Regions from separate parts of the Homo sapiens genome. Here region 2 is linked to region 1. The links are contacts of gene promoters, found by promoter capture Hi-C in blood cells and fetal thymus (Javierre and others, 2016). All regions are on one chromosome and are shown on one strand. The core of a region is centred on a gene start or on the middle of the fragment in contact, and the rest is flanking DNA. Distances in the headings are between cores, read along the strand shown. Region 1 holds the start of ALOX15B (arachidonate 15-lipoxygenase type B). Region 2 has its middle 30 kb from the start of GUCY2D.

Region 1 (3,925 bases), core at 573-3,072:
TCCCAGTTTTCCCCTGTGATCTCCAATGCTGAGCCCAGAGCACAGAGAGAGCCCCCATCTCACCCCTTGCTAGCCCTGGAGGGTGAGTTTCCTGGGGCTTGAAGGGCGTGTTTCTGGCTCTACTCAGATTTCTGGGAGGACACAACAAGCCGATGCATGAAAAAGTCCCAGGGCAAGGAAGACACCAGCAAAGGTAAGGCATTTAAAGCAGTTTCTTTCTCTTTCTTTTCTTTCTTTCTTTCTTTCTTTCTTTCTTTCTTTCTTTCTTTCTTTCTTTCTCTCTCTTTCTTTCTCTCTTTCCTTCCTTTTCCTTCCTTCCTTTTTTTTTTTCTTTTTTTGAGATGGAGTTTTGCTCTGTCCCCCATGCTGGAGTGCAATGGCGTGATCGGCTCACTGCAACCTCCACCACCCGGGTTCAAGCTATTCTTCTGCCTCAGCCTCCCATGTAGCTGAGAATACAGGTGCCCGCCACCCTACCCAGCTGATTTTTGTATTTTTAGTAGAGATGGGGTTTCGCCCTGTTGGCCAGGCTGGTCTCGAACTCCCGACCTCCAGTGATCCGCCTCCCTCAGCCTCCCAAAGTGCTGAGATTACAGGTGTGAGCCACCACGGCACCTGGCCCTAGAGCAGTGTTTTTCAAACATCAGTGGCCACCAGAGTCATCTGGAAGGCTTGTCAAAACAAAAATTCCCACTCTACACCCTCAGTGTCGTAGTAGGTTGGAGGTGGCCTGAGAATTTGCATTTCTAATACGTTCCTGTAGACGCTGCTGATCCCAGGAGCAGCTTTGATAGGAGAGGTGGAGGCAGGGGCTTTTAATCTCTGTCATGACCAGGACACTCAAGCTGCCCCTCATCGTTTGGGCACACCCTCCCCCATCAGTAACCCCCTCCTCACTGGTACATCTCCTGCCGGGCCTGAAGCTCCTCCTGGCGCTGTTGCTGGAGCACAGGGTGGTGGTCTGCCCAGGACACCTTGGCTGTGGGAGAAGGGGAGTAGGTTGGGGTGGGGAGAGAAACTCACCATCACTACCACCAGCCACACAGTCTCCACGATTGCCACCCTCTACCAGGTCCCCTCCTCCCATAAGTACAGTTTCTCCTACACCAGGCTGCTACCTCCCGCTCCCCAAGGCTCCGCCATTCCCTCTCCTCTGCCCGCTACTCTGTGGCCACACCAGCTCACCTCTCCATTTCACCTGCCCTTCTCCCCAACCCCCAGTCCCCTACCCCTTCCTGTGCTCCCCCTGCAGCCCCAGCCCGGCCCGCCCCTCACCTGTACCCTCCTGCAGCACCAGGGTCCCCGCCCCCTCCAGCCACTGGTAGCAGGGGAAGAGGAGGTGGCCGCCCCGCGGCGGTGTCAGCTGGAACCAGCGGCAGAACCAGGCATCCGGGGCCAGGGGCCCCAGCAGGGGCAGCACTGGGGGCGCCTTGTGCACGCGCAGCAGCAGCACTCGGCCTACGTCCTCCGGGAGCGTCACCTGGAAGTCCTCCTCCTGAGGGGAGGTTAAGTATGCGTCAGGCCGGACCCTCCTGCTCGCCCCCTTCACCTCCACCCCATCCACTCCCACGCACTCACAGCGCCCGCAGTGAACTCCTTGCCGAGATTGTCCAGGGGCAGTGGGGGGCTCTCTCCCCGGGTCCCCACGATGCTGACAGACACTTTGTCCCATGTGCCAGCCCCGAAGGCTTCTCCGGTGGACACCCTGACCCTGAACTCGGCCATGCTGCCAGCCTAAGTCCAGCTCTCTACGGCGCACAGGGCTGCAGAGCGGGGCTCCCCCCTGGGACACGCCTGGTTATTGCCCCTGGTTATTGCCACTGACTCCAAGCCCAGTGGACTCCTCTAAAAAGCACGTCCGTTTCAGGGCGGGGAGGGGCGGGGCGGAGAGGCTGGAACACGCAACTAAAGTGGGGGTGGGCGGGGGATTGGCAGCGCTGGGAACAGGAGGGACTAAGAATACCCTGAGGTTTGGGGAACGGGGCCTTTCAGTGGTGGTGCCAGGCCAGAGAGCCTAGAGTTGGGACCCAGTTGGGGTGGGGGTAGATTTGTGCCCACCACGTCTGTTTGTTTTCCTTCTTAGCCTTAGAAGTCTATGCAAAAATATCACCCCATTTCCCACAACTCTTCTTGGGCCTGCGTTCATTATTTTTAAAATTTATTTATTTATTTATTTTTGAGACAGAGGCTTGCTCTGTCGCCAGGCTGGAGTGCAGCAGCATGATCTCGGCTCACTGGAACCTCCTCCTCCTGGGTTCAAGTGATTCTCCTACCTCAGCCTCCCCAGTAGCTGAGACAACAGGCGAGTGCCACCATGCCCAGCTAATTTTTGTATTTTAGTAGAGACGGGGTTCCACCATGTAGGCCAGGATGATCTTGATCTCTTGACCTCATGATCCGCCTGCCTCGGCCTCCCAAAGTGCTGGGATTACAGGCGTGAGCCACCGCGCCCAGCCTACATTCATTATTTTATTTCATTCAATAATTAATGTTCAGAACTACCTCTGTGCCAGGTGCTATGCTCACTGCTATTGATAAAGGCCCAGGCAAGACCTAGTGCTTGCTCTCATGGAGATTAAAAATCAAGTGTGAGGCCAGGCACAGTTGCTGGCCAACATGGTGAAACCCCATCTCTACTAAAAATACAAAAAAATTAGCCAAGCGTGGTGGCGGGCGCCTGTAGTCCCAGCTACTCAGGAGGCTGAGGCAGGAGAATAGCTTGAACCCGGAAGGCGGAGGTTTCAGTGAGGTGAAGTTGTGCCATTGCACTCCAGCATGGGCGACAGAGCAAATCTCGGTCTAAAAAAAAAAAATCAAGTGTGAGAGAAAATAAGTAAACCAACACATAATTTCAGATGATAATAAGTGCAATGAAGGAAATGAAACAGACTAATGTGAAGGAGTGAGAAGCAGAGGTGGGAAGGGAGGCGTTCAGAGCCTCAGAGGAGGTGAAAGGATCTGTCTGGGGAACAGAGTTTTGTGCAGAGGAAACTGTTCCTGAAGAGGCCCTGTGGTTAGGAAAAGCTTGGCTTGTTGGAGGAGGGAAAGGCAAGAGTGCAGTGAGGGAGGGATTTGGGGGAGAGATGCCAAGGGGAAGTTATGGATTTGGGCTTTGGGGGAATAACATAACAGATTTGGGGTTTTCGGTCTGGAGATGCTAAGTTTGAGATGGCCATTAGACATCCAAGTGGAGAACCCACGTCTGGGCATAGAGCTCAGGACTGCAGGTGTGCATCTTTGAGTCACAAGCACACAGGTACATCTATACCACAGGCTGGTGGAGATCACTAGGCAGAGAATATCCTATAAGTAGAGAAGAGAAGAGGCACAAGCTGTGCCCTAAGGTCCTCTGATATTTGGAAGTCATGCAAAGGAGTGGAAGCAGCAAAGTTCAGTCAATGAGGTAGGAGGAGAACGATGCCGGCAGACACTTTGTCCTCTTGTGCCTGTCACAGTGTTTCATGAAAGCCAACTGAAGTGAGAGTGACTTATCATGTATATTCCATATATACCATGGAATACTATACAGCCATGAAAAAGAATGAGATCATGGTCAGGCATGGTGTCTCACACCTGTAATCTCAGAACTTTGGGAGGCTGAGGCAGGCAGATCACGAGGTCAGGAGTTCGAGACCAGCCTGACCAACATGGTGAAACCCCATCTCTACTAAAAATACAAAAATTAGCTGGGTGTGGTGGTGACTGCCTGTAATTCCGGCTACTCAGGAGGCTGAGGCAGGAGAATCATTTGAACCCGGGAGGCAGAGGTTGCAATTCCAGCTACTCAGGAGGCTGAGGCAGGAGAATCACTTGAACCCGGGAGGCGGAGGTTGCAGTGAGCCAAGATCGTGCCACTGCACTCCAGCCCTGGTGATAGAGCGAGACTTCGTCTCAAAAAAAAAAAAAAAAAGAATGAGATCATGTC
Region 2 (3,925 bases), core at 527-3,026, 66 kb after region 1:
GGTTGCCTAACAGACCACCTGCTTCTTGTTGACCAACTTCCCTTCCTAACCCCTCCCTAATTCCTGTTTTCCCACACATGGTTACATTTCTTCCCTATTATATAAATCCATAATTTTAGCCAGCCAGGGAGATAGATTTGAGACTGATCTCCCATCTCCTTGGTGGCAGTGCCTGATTATAGCCTTCTTCTCTGGCAATACTTGTTGTCTCAGTGATTGGCTTTCTGTGCAGTAAACTGATCCCCTGACATTTCAGCAACAGCATTACAGAGAAACCTCATTTCCACCCTTGCCTCCTTCACTTTTCCCCTCTCTCCTTCCACCTGAGGTAACATTTTTACAGAGATGTATTCTGACCATTTTTTCTTCCCTAAGTGGCAGCATATGCTTTACTGTTCTGAAAAGTGCTTTTTTCACTTAGCAATAATAAATCAGGAACCTTTTCTACATAAGTTCATAGACATCTTCCTCTTTCTTTCTTATAGCCAATATTATATTTAATCCATTATGTGGCTGGACCATAAATTATTCAGTAAGTCCCCATTACTAGACACTTGAATTGTTTCCACTCTTTTGCTATCACAGTGTCTCAATTAATACCCTTGTGCTATGTCATTTCATTTTTATGCATGGATTGGTATTTCATGAACATATCTTATATATGTGCCCCATATGCTGGGTTAAAGCATAAATGCAAAGAGTCTCTGTTCCCTTAAAGCTTCACCAGGCCAGGCGTGGTGGCTCACGCCTGTAATCCCAGCACTTTGGGAGGCCGAGGCAAGTGGATCATGAGGTCAGGAGATCGAGACCATCCTGGCTAACATGGTGAAACCCTGTCTCTACTAAAAACACAAAAAATTAGCCGGGCATGGTGGCGGGCACCTATAGTCCCAGCTACTCGGGAGGCTGAGGCAGGAGAATGGCCTGAATCTGGGAGGCAGAGCTTGCAGTGAGCCCAGGTCGCACCACTGCACCCCAGCCTGGGCAACAGAGCGATACTCCGTCTCAAAAACAAAACAAAAAAAGCTTCACCAACAGAGTACATTGTCCAACTTTAGGATTTGGGGATTTTTACCAATCTGTTTGGTAGAAAAAAATGGTGTCTCACTATAGTTTTAATTTGCATTTGTTTTATGAGAAAGGTTGAACTTCTTTTCATGAATTTAAAGACTTTTTATATTTTTGGTGTGTAAACTATCTCTTTATGTCCTTTGCTCTTTCTGTTTTGGATTGGTGGTGTGTGTAGTTTTTTTTTTTTTTTTTTTAGATGGAGTTTTGCTCTGGTTGCCCAGGCTGGAGTGGAATGGTGCAATCTTGGCTCACCACAACCTCTGCTTCCTGGGTTCAAGCAATTCTCCTGCCTCAGCCTCCTGAGTAGCTGGGATTACAGGCATGTGCCACCACGCCTGGCTAATTTTGTATTTTTAGTAGAGATGGGGTTTCTCCATGTTGGCTAGGCTGTTCTCGAACTCCTGACCTCAGGTGATCCTCCCACCTCGGCCTCCCAAAGTGCTGGGATTACAGACGTGAGCCACCGTGCCCAGCAGTGGTGTGTGTGTTTTTTTTAAACTGCATTGGTGGTCTTTTTCTTCTCAATTTCTAGAAGCTCTTTGTAAATTACAGCATTAGCCCTTGGTCTTTTGCTTGTTTGTTTGTTTGTTTTTGAGACACAGTCTCACTCTATCCCCCAGGCTGGAGTGCAGTGGCGCAATCTCGGCTCACTGCAACCTTCGCCTCCTGGGTTCAAGTGATTCTCATGCCTCAGCCTCCCCTGAGCAGCTGAGATTACAGGCATCTGCCACCATACTCAGCTAATTTTTGCATTTTTAGTAGAGACGGGGTTTCACCATGTTGGCCAGGCTGGTCTCGAACTGACCTCAGGTGATCTGCCTGGCTCGGCCTCCCAAAGTGCTGGGATTACAGGTGAGAGCCACCATACCCAGCCAGCCCTTGGTCTTTGATATGAGTTGCAAGTACTTATTCCAGCTCTTTTTATGTATTTTGCCTTTTATTTATAACTTTATTTATTTATTTATCTATCTATCTATCTATTTTGAGATGATGTCTCGCTCTGTCGCTCACGCTGGAGTGCAATGGCGTGATTTCAGCTCACTGCAACCTCTGCCTCTCAAGTTCCAGCGATTCTCCTGCCTCAGCCTCCCCAGTAGCTGGGATTACAGGGAACACTACCACATCCAGCTAAAATTTTTTTTTTTTTTTTGTATTTTTAGTAAAGACAGGGTTTCTCCATGTTGGCCAGGCTGGTCTCAAACTCCTGACCTCAAGTGATCCGCCCGCCTCGGCCTCCCGAATTGCTGGGATTACAGGTATGAGCCACCGCGCCCAGCCTTTATATAAAAGTTTAATGAAACATTTTATTTTGAGATAAATATAGATTCAAATACAGTGGTTAAAAAAAAATATGGAGCCATCTCATATATCCTTAGTCCAGTGCCCCCAGTGGTAACATATTACAAAACTGCAGTACAATATAGTTATAATTTTTTTTGCCATACAAAAGCTTTTTCTTGCTGTTTTTAACATAGTGGAATATATCAGTCTTTTTATGGCTTCTGGGTTTTGACTCTAAGACTCTCTTGCAATATTTGTGTCACTGCTAGAGGGATCAGTTACTTCCATGACTCTCTTAGACTTAGTTCCTCAGGGAAAAGGAATTCCTGGAGAGTTGCCTCTTGGCCTCCACCATGACTTTTGCTCTCCCTACAGAGCCTACTGCCCCACCCTCTGGCCTTGGCCTTGGTAGTGCAGTTTCTGGCCACACAGACAATTCAACTTAGCTGGAGATGCTGGTGCTGGAGTCTCCTACTGAGTCTTGAAGGTTCTACACATGAGCCCTTCTGGCTGGTGAGTCACTACCGTCAGGTCGGGTACCTGGGCTGGTGGGGGTGGCAGTGCCATTTCTGGTGCCCTGTCTGTCCAGTGCCCCCTTGGCCTGGGGCAAACCTCTTGATGGTTGGTTCTTCAACTCCAGGAGCCTCTTCCTCTCGACAACTCTCCTGCCTTTTCTTCCCACTACAGATTCAGGGGCTTTGAAGTCAAATCCATCCCCAGGCTGCTATCGACTACCTGGCATTTCTACTGCTTAAGCCACAATCACAGGGCTTCCTACACTTGACCTGTAATTGAATTTCCTTGGGAACTCAATGACAAGATTGATTCAGCCTAATTGAGTCAATGATCAACTCTCCCTGCTTTTATCTAGTCCTTGTTTCTGCCTGGGGATGCCTGGGCTGAGGCTATGAGACTTTCACAGTTTTTGTTTAAAGAGTTAAAAGCCGGCTGACGCCTTTTTTATTTTTTCCCACCTATTTGCATTTTGGCAACTGACACCTCTTAAAAACCATTTATTTAAAAGATCCTGCAGAACATAACCTTTCTTCACCTTCTGTCTAAGCCAGCTGAGGTCAGAGGAAACGCCTGTTTTTAAACTTGTGTGTGTTCTCCTCATATGAATGTTAAAATGCAATTCTAAGAAATACAAAAGGCCAGGTATAGTGGTATGCACCTGTAATCCCAGCACTTTGGGAGCCTAATCCGGGAGGATTACTTTTTTGAGCCCAGGAGTTTGAGGTTGCAGTGAGCTGTGATGGTCCCATTACACCCCAGCCTGGGTGCCACAGTGAGACCCTGTCTCTAAGGTAAAAATTTTAAAAAGGAAGAAATTAAAAAGTCCAGCCTCAAAAGCAGGTTTGGAAATGAATGAAAAGTCAGCTTTTGGGTGGTTCTTAAAAATTTTTTTTTAAATTTATTTTGAGACAAGGTCTCACTCTGTTGCCCAGACTGGAGTGCAGTGGCGTGATTTCAGCTCACTGCAACCTCAACCTCCCGGGTTCAAACAATTAGGGTGCCTCGGCTTCCTGAGTAGCTGGGATTACAGGCATATGCCACCATACCCGACTAATTT

The links. The method cuts DNA at HindIII sites, captures the fragments that hold promoters and counts their contacts. A CHiCAGO score of 5 or more calls a contact.
Region 2: a fragment that was not itself captured here is called in contact with the fragment with the promoter of ALOX15B in region 1 in 1 of 17 cell types (endothelial precursors); the score reaches 6.0 in endothelial precursors.

Annotation. Positions count from the first base shown.
Region 1 is chr17:8,036,956-8,040,880 of GRCh38, reverse strand. It overlaps ALOX15B (arachidonate 15-lipoxygenase type B), which reads right to left and starts at 1,822. Exons shown (of 14, transcript NM_001141.3): 1 at 1,579-1,822; 2 at 1,276-1,495; 3 at 898-979. The coding sequence starts at 1,725. The HindIII fragment of the contact is 10,323 bases long and covers 1-3,026 here.
Region 2 is chr17:7,971,125-7,975,049 of GRCh38, reverse strand. No RefSeq gene overlaps it. Among named protein-coding and RNA genes, the nearest start is that of GUCY2D, 30 kb to the left of the region's middle. The HindIII fragment of the contact is 1,495 bases long and covers 1,029-2,523 here.